2 separate regions of the Homo sapiens genome follow, and region 2 is linked to region 1. Evidence: promoter capture Hi-C in 16 types of primary human blood cells and fetal thymus (Javierre and others, 2016). All regions are on one chromosome and are shown on one strand. Each heading gives the region's core, a stretch centred on a gene start or on the middle of the fragment in contact. The rest is flanking DNA. Distances are from core to core; before and after follow the strand shown. Region 1 holds the start of FZD8 (frizzled class receptor 8). Region 2 overlaps ZNF25-DT (ZNF25 divergent transcript).

Evidence for each region. Contacts are between HindIII fragments. The CHiCAGO score rates a contact against its expected background, and 5 or more counts as called.
Region 2: a contact is called between a fragment that was not itself captured here and the fragment with the promoter of FZD8 in region 1, in 1 of 17 cell types (naive CD8 T cells). The highest score is 5.1, in naive CD8 T cells.

The regions. Positions count from the first base shown.
Region 1 is chr10:35,639,922-35,643,783 of GRCh38, reverse strand. FZD8 (frizzled class receptor 8) reads left to right here and starts at 1,488. Exons shown (of 1, transcript NM_031866.3): 1 at 1,488-3,862. The coding sequence starts at 2,355. It overlaps LOC124902528 (zinc finger protein 469-like), which reads left to right and starts at 938. Exons shown (of 2, transcript XM_047426128.1): 1 at 938-1,154; 2 at 1,371-2,056. The coding sequence starts at 938. The coding sequence ends at 2,056. It overlaps MIR4683 (microRNA 4683), which reads left to right and starts at 2,532; the gene lies at 2,532-2,612. It overlaps LOC105376494 (a long non-coding RNA gene), which reads right to left and starts at 469. Exons shown (of 2, transcript XR_930820.3): 1 at 1-469. RefSeq lists silencers at 2,940-3,029, 3,569-3,862 and an enhancer at 3,140-3,299. The HindIII fragment of the contact is 11,239 bases long and covers 1-3,862 here.
Region 2 is chr10:37,980,071-37,983,795 of GRCh38, reverse strand. ZNF25-DT (ZNF25 divergent transcript) reads right to left here. Exons shown (of 6, transcript XR_930830.4): 2 at 3,386-3,507. Among named protein-coding and RNA genes, the nearest start is that of ZNF25-DT, 5.2 kb to the right of the region's middle. The HindIII fragment of the contact is 7,521 bases long and covers 1-3,725 here.

The DNA of each region.
Region 1 (3,862 bases), core at 239-2,738:
GGAGGGGGGAGAGAAAGTGGTGGGGGAGAGAGAGAAGGAAAGGAGGTGGGGAGAGAGAGAGAGGGAAGACAGAAGAGAGGCAGGGAGGAAGAGGGAGAGAGGGGGACGGAGATGGGGAGGAGGCGGGAGGGAGGGAGAGAAAGAGAGAGAGAAACATATTCTGCCACCCTCCTGGCTAACTGAAATGCTTGTTCCCGAGATTACAGTAATTACTGCCCCAGCATGAGTTCCATACAAGCGCTAAATGAAACAGCACATCAATTAAAAAATAAACACTCCATTCTAGGAGAAAGACAGCCCCCTGGGACGCCCTAACAAGCGTAAATGAACCTGCCAGGCCGCCGGCCCGGGCCGCCCGCAGCCCCCCTCCCGGCCCGTCTTAAGGTGGCGGCGGAGCCGGCGGGGGCAGCGTTCGCTGGCGGTGGCCCAAGCGGCTGCTAAAAGCAGCCCGGGTCCGGCTCCGGCCTCGTGCAGAGAGCAGATACGTGTCGCGGAGTCCACGCCAGAGCGCAGCGCCGCCTCCCACCAGAGAAAAGGAGGCTCTGGCAAAAGCCTGTGAACTTGGGATGGATGAATAGACGTCCTGAAAGAACGAAGGGAAGACAGGGAATCCAGCCCCAGAGTTTCCAGCCTGTCCTATTTATAAGTTTCGAGGTTTGTTTTGAATTTTAGAAAGAAATTGAATGATTTTTCCTAAGAAAGCACGGCGGCTCGGGGCTTCCTATATTTTATCTCACCTAATTATCAAAGCCCCCTTGGAGATCTGTGCTATGATCACCCAACTCTCTAGGTGGGGAAACTGAGGCTCCCCCAGGTCACGCAGCGGAGGCGGGAGGAGAGTCTCTGGCGGGCATTTGTCCCCCGCGCCCCTCGCGCGCCCAAGGCTGGGCTCCGGGGCATCTCACCCGGGCCGTCCCGGGTCCAGCCCCAGTTTAGAATGACTCCACACCCCCCACATCTCCAAGTCTCAGAAACCATCGTTCTGAGAACCCCAAGGAGGACACCCTTTCCCGGGTCTTCTGCAGCGCCGAGCCCCGGCAGGCCTCCCCGGCGCTCGCCTGCTGCGAGACCTTCCTGCCGCCCCGAGGAGCACGAGACCCCAGCCGCCTGCAGATCACCCACATTTGCGGAGGGTGGCAGCAGGGGCTTGGCTGGTTTGAAACGCGCCGGGGAGGCGCGCGCTGCACCAAACCCCGTCCCTGTCCCCAAGGGCAGACTCGGGGTAAGGGGACCAAGACCTCCGACGCACTCAGCGCCATGGGGACAGCCATGGCCAACACTCTGTCTCTGCGGTCAATCCCAAGGTTACCAAAACTCTCCATCCGCAGAGAGCGCGCACAGCAGTGCGGACACTCGGGGACTGCCTTAAGGAAGGCTGAGCCCTGGGAGCGCGTGGACTCCGCCCTACCGCCCGGCGATTGGCTCGCGGGGCTGGGGGCGGAGACCGAGTCCGCGCTGTATAAATATTCATGAGCCGGCAGCGCGGCGCGAGCGGGGCTGGAGCCGGGAAGTTGGGCTAAGGGCGCTGCTCCCGCCGAGGAGGAGGCGGCGGCTGGGCGCGGGCCGCGCCACTCAGGTGTCCGCTCCGCCTTCCGGTCTGGATTTGCTCCTGGGTGTCCAGCAGGAAGGAGACTGTGTGCACCTCGCCCGACTGCGGCCGGAGCGCGGCGCTGACTTTTCCAGGCGGCGGGGGTCCGTCTGTCCCGGCGGCGGACGGACGAAGGACGGACGCCGGAGAAAGAGGGCGGCGGCCTGGGCCGAGGCGGGTCCCCAACTCCGGCGGCGGCGGCGGCGGCTTGGCCTTGGGGGCGGGCATGAGCCCCCGGGGGCCGAGTGGTGGCCGCCAGGGCTGACCCGGCGCGGCAAGCGGCCCGGCCCAGCCATCTTGACTGCGCACCGCGGCCCCAGAGGAAACTTGCGGCGCCTCCGCCCTCTCTGTCCGGCGGAGTCACCGCCGCCCGGCGCGGCGGGGAGAAGTGGTCGGGCGCGCGGAGAGGAGGCGAGCGAGCGCGGGACGATGAGCCGAGGCCCGGCCGCTCTGCGCCGCGAGGGCTGAGCGCGACCCGGGGCCAGCAGAGCGGACCTACGGACTGTGGCGCGCGCCTGCAGCCGCCTTCAAACCCCCGGAGCGGCGGAAAGGAGTGCGGAAGGGCCCTGCCCAGGCTGCGGGCCGCGCCGCTGCGGACGCGCCCCTAGAAGGGGTTAGATTATCGGCAGACCCCCCTCCCGGGCGAAGCATAAGGGAGACCCCAGATCACCCGCTGTACCCGTCTGCGGCTCTCTCGTGGGCCCCCCCCCCGGCACCCCTCTGCGCGCCGCCTGGAGGGCGAGGGCACCGGGCCGAGGCGCACAGCATGGAGTGGGGTTACCTGTTGGAAGTGACCTCGCTGCTGGCCGCCTTGGCGCTGCTGCAGCGCTCTAGCGGCGCTGCGGCCGCCTCGGCCAAGGAGCTGGCATGCCAAGAGATCACCGTGCCGCTGTGTAAGGGCATCGGCTACAACTACACCTACATGCCCAATCAGTTCAACCACGACACGCAAGACGAGGCGGGCCTGGAGGTGCACCAGTTCTGGCCGCTGGTGGAGATCCAGTGCTCGCCCGATCTCAAGTTCTTCCTGTGCAGCATGTACACGCCCATCTGCCTAGAGGACTACAAGAAGCCGCTGCCGCCCTGCCGCTCGGTGTGCGAGCGCGCCAAGGCCGGCTGCGCGCCGCTCATGCGCCAGTACGGCTTCGCCTGGCCCGACCGCATGCGCTGCGACCGGCTGCCCGAGCAAGGCAACCCTGACACGCTGTGCATGGACTACAACCGCACCGACCTAACCACCGCCGCGCCCAGCCCGCCGCGCCGCCTGCCGCCGCCGCCGCCCGGCGAGCAGCCGCCTTCGGGCAGCGGCCACGGCCGCCCGCCGGGGGCCAGGCCCCCGCACCGCGGCGGCGGCAGGGGCGGTGGCGGCGGGGACGCGGCGGCGCCCCCAGCTCGCGGCGGCGGCGGTGGCGGGAAGGCGCGGCCCCCTGGCGGCGGCGCGGCTCCCTGCGAGCCCGGGTGCCAGTGCCGCGCGCCTATGGTGAGCGTGTCCAGCGAGCGCCACCCGCTCTACAACCGCGTCAAGACAGGCCAGATCGCTAACTGCGCGCTGCCCTGCCACAACCCCTTTTTCAGCCAGGACGAGCGCGCCTTCACCGTCTTCTGGATCGGCCTGTGGTCGGTGCTCTGCTTCGTGTCCACCTTCGCCACCGTCTCCACCTTCCTTATCGACATGGAGCGCTTCAAGTACCCGGAGCGGCCCATTATCTTCCTCTCGGCCTGCTACCTCTTCGTGTCGGTGGGCTACCTAGTGCGCCTGGTGGCGGGCCACGAGAAGGTGGCGTGCAGCGGTGGCGCGCCGGGCGCGGGGGGCGCTGGGGGCGCGGGCGGCGCGGCGGCGGGCGCGGGCGCGGCGGGCGCGGGCGCGGGCGGCCCGGGCGGGCGCGGCGAGTACGAGGAGCTGGGCGCGGTGGAGCAGCACGTGCGCTACGAGACCACCGGCCCCGCGCTGTGCACCGTGGTCTTCTTGCTGGTCTACTTCTTCGGCATGGCCAGCTCCATCTGGTGGGTGATCTTGTCGCTCACATGGTTCCTGGCGGCCGGTATGAAGTGGGGCAACGAAGCCATCGCCGGCTACTCGCAGTACTTCCACCTGGCCGCGTGGCTTGTGCCCAGCGTCAAGTCCATCGCGGTGCTGGCGCTCAGCTCGGTGGACGGCGACCCGGTGGCGGGCATCTGCTACGTGGGCAACCAGAGCCTGGACAACCTGCGCGGCTTCGTGCTGGCGCCGCTGGTCATCTACCTCTTCATCGGCACCATGTTCCTGCTGGCCGG
Region 2 (3,725 bases), core at 590-3,089, 2.3 Mb before region 1:
GCGTGATCTCGGCTCATTGCAACCTCTGCCTCCTGGGTTCAAGTGATTCTTCCAACTCAGGAGACACGGGCCACCACACCTGTGTTGTGGGAAGTCAGGGACCCTGAACAGAGGGACCGGCTGGAGCCGTGGCAGAGGAACATAAATTGTGAAGATTTCATAGACATTTACCAGTTCCCAAATAATACTTTCATAATTTCTTTCTCCTGTCTTACTTTAATCTCTTAATCCTATTATCTTCGTAAACTGAGGATGTATGTCACCTCAGGACCACTATTGTGTTAACTGTACAAATTGAATGTAAAACATGTGTGTTTGAACAATATGAAATCATTGCACCTTGAAAAAGAATAGAATAACAGCGATTTTCAGGGAACAAGGGAAGACAACTATAAGGTCTGACTGCCTGCGGGGTTGGGCAAAATAGAGCCATATTTTTCTTCTTGCAGAGAGCCTATAAATGGAGGTGCAAGTAGGGAAGATATCGCTAAATTCTTTTCCTAGCAAGGATTAATACTCTGGGAAAGGAATGCATTCCTGTGGGGAGGTCTATAAACGGCTTCTTTGGGAGTGTCTGTCTTTTTTTTTTTTTTTTTTTTTTTTTTTGAGACGGAGTCTCACTCTGTCGCCCAGGTCGGACTGCGGACTGCAGTGGCGCAATCTCGGCTCACTGCAAGCTCCGCTTCCCGGGTTCACGCCATTCTCCTGCCTCAGCCTCCCGAGGGGAGTGTCTGTCTTACATGGTTGAGATAAGGACTGAAATATGCCCTGGTCTCCTGCAGTACCCTCAGGCTTACTAGGGTGGGGAAAAACCCTGCCCCACTAAATTTGAGGTCAGCCTGGTTCTCTGCTCTCAAACCCTGTTTTCTGTTGTTTAAGATGTTTATAAAGACAATACGTGCACCACTGAACATAGACCCTTATCAGTAATTCTGCTTTTGCCCTTTGCCTTGTGATCTTGTTTTTGCCCTTTGCTTTGTGATCTTTGCCTTTGCCCTTTGTCTTGTGATCTTTGTTAGACCCTTATTAGGAGTTTCTGATTTTTCCCTTAGAAGCATGTGATCTTTGTGACCTACTCCCTGTTCTTGCACCCCCTCCCCTTTTGAAATCCTTAATAAAACTTGCTGGCTTTAAGGCTCAGGTGGGCATCACGGTCCTACCGATGTGATGTCACCCCCAGAGGCCCAGCTGTAAAATTCCTCTCTTTGTACTCTTTCTCTTTATTTTTCTCAGCCGGCTGACACTTATGGAAAATAGAAAGAACCTATGTTGAAATATTGGGGGCAGGTTCCCCTGATATGCCCAGATAGTTTTTGTATCTATTGTAGAGATGGGGTTTCACTATGTTGGCCAGGCTGGTCTCAAACTCCTGACCTCAAGTGATCCACCCGCCTCGGCCTCCCAAAGTACTGGGATTACAGGCATGAGTCATCACACCCAGCCCAGAAACAGTTTTTGAATTGGATCTTGAATCAGAAAAACAATTATCTATAAAAGTCTTAATTGAAGGCTGGGCGTAGTGGCTCATGCCTGTAATCTCAGCACTTTAGGAGGATGAGATGGGGAGATCACGAGGTAAAGAGATCGAGATCATCCTGGATAACATGGTGAAAATCCATCTCTACTTAAAAAAAAAAATACAAAATTTACCCGGGCATGGTGGTGCATGCCTGTAGTCCCAGCTACTCAGGAGGCTGATGCAGGACAATCACTTGAACCTGAGAAGGGGAGATTGTAGTGAGCCGAGATTGTGCCACAGCACTGCAGCCTGGGTGACAGAGTAAGACTCCATCTCAAGAAAAAAAAAAAAAAGACTTAATTGAGACAATCAGTGAAATTTGAACATGGACTGTACATTATAGATTAGATATTATATCTTTGTTAAATTTTTCTGATTTTGAGCACTGTACCATGGTTATCTGAGAATTTTATCCTTGCTGATAGAAAATATACAGCTAAGAACTTAGGAGTAAAGTGGAATGATTCCTACAACTGACTCTCAAATGATTAAGAAAAATAAATACATAATATACACAAATAGCAAAAATTATGAAGCAAATGTGCCAAAATATTAATGATGGAATTATCTTGGTGAAGGATATATGATAATTCAATTTTTTTTTTTCTGAGATGGAGTTTCAGTCTGTCACCCAGGCTGGGGTACAATGGCATGATCTTGGCTCACTGTAACCTCCGCCTCCCAGGTTCAAGCAATTCTCCTGCCTCAGCCTCCTGAGTAGCTGAGCTTACAGGTGTGCACCACTACACCCAGCTAATTTTTATATTTTTAGTAGAGATGGGGTTTCACTATGTTCTCAAACTCCTGACATCGTGATCCATCTGCCTCAGCCTCTCAAAATGCTGGGATTACAGGCAGGAGCAACCATGCCTGGCCTATAGGAGAATTCTTTATCCTACTTTTGCAATTTATTTATAAGTTAAAGATTACTTCAGGCCAGGTGCAGTGGCTCACGTCTGTAATCCCAGCACTTTGGGAGGTGGAGGTGGACAGATCACCTGAAGTCAGGATTTCAAGACCAGCCTGCCAACATGGTGAAACCCCAACTCTACTAAAAATAGAAAAAAATAGCCGGGTATGGTGGCAAACACCTGTAATCCCAGCTACTTGGGAGGCTGATGCACAAGAATAGCTTGAACCTGGGAGATGGAAGTTGCAGTAAGCCGAGATTGCACCACTGCACTCCGGCCTGGGTGATAGAGTGAGACTCTATCTAAAAAAAAAATTAAAAATAAGATTACCTCAAAATAAATGAGTAAAAGAAATTGCAATAATAAATTGCAAAACTGGTCTTTATTGTTAGAAGTGAGGATGGGGGCTGGGTGCAGTGGCTCACGCCTGTAATCTCAGCATTTTCCAAGGCCGAGGTGGGTGGATCATCTGAGGTCAGGAGTTCCAGACCAGCCTGGCCAACATGGTGAAACCCTGTCTCTACTAAAAATGCAGAAAATTAGCCAAGCATGGTGGCACATGCCTGTAATCCCAGCTACTCAGGAGGCTGAAGCAGGAGAATCACTTGAACCAAGGAGGCAGAGGTTGCAGTGAGCTGAGATCGTGCCATTGCACTCCAGTCTGGGCAACAAGAGAGAAACTCCATCTCAAAAAAAAAAAAAAAAAACCAGAAATCAAGATGGGGCTACTTTTGAGAGGGAGAGAAATGACCAATAAAGAATGGGTCATTCAAGGAGACTTCAGGCACTGGTAATATTGTCTTTGAACTCCTTGGTGTTTACATGTTTGTGTTTACCTCTCTTCATCATTCACTTATCAATTATACAGTGATACACATGCCATTGCATACTTTTATATTTTTTATACTTCAATAAAAACATTTTTAAGTAAAATTAAACTATTCAGATATAACACCTTGAGGATTGCTTTCTTTCTGTGTCTTCTTTCCTGAATCCCTAGTGAAGTCCTCAGGTCAGGGTGATAGTCTCCTAGGTGGTTCTCTTCTTCATTTCAAAAGAACAGTTTTATTCCTTATGCTGTGGAGAAACCAAATGTAAAAATTCACCTTGTGTGAACCCTTCACCAGTGACTTCAAATTGCTACTTCTCTTGGAACTTACTAACTTCTAAAAATTAAGAGTGGACTTTCAGTAAATTTGAAATGAAACTTTTAACATATGGCACACCAAATATCCATGACACCAAATTCCAGGAGCCCCACAGGGATAGTTTATAGCCACCCTTAGGAGAGAGAG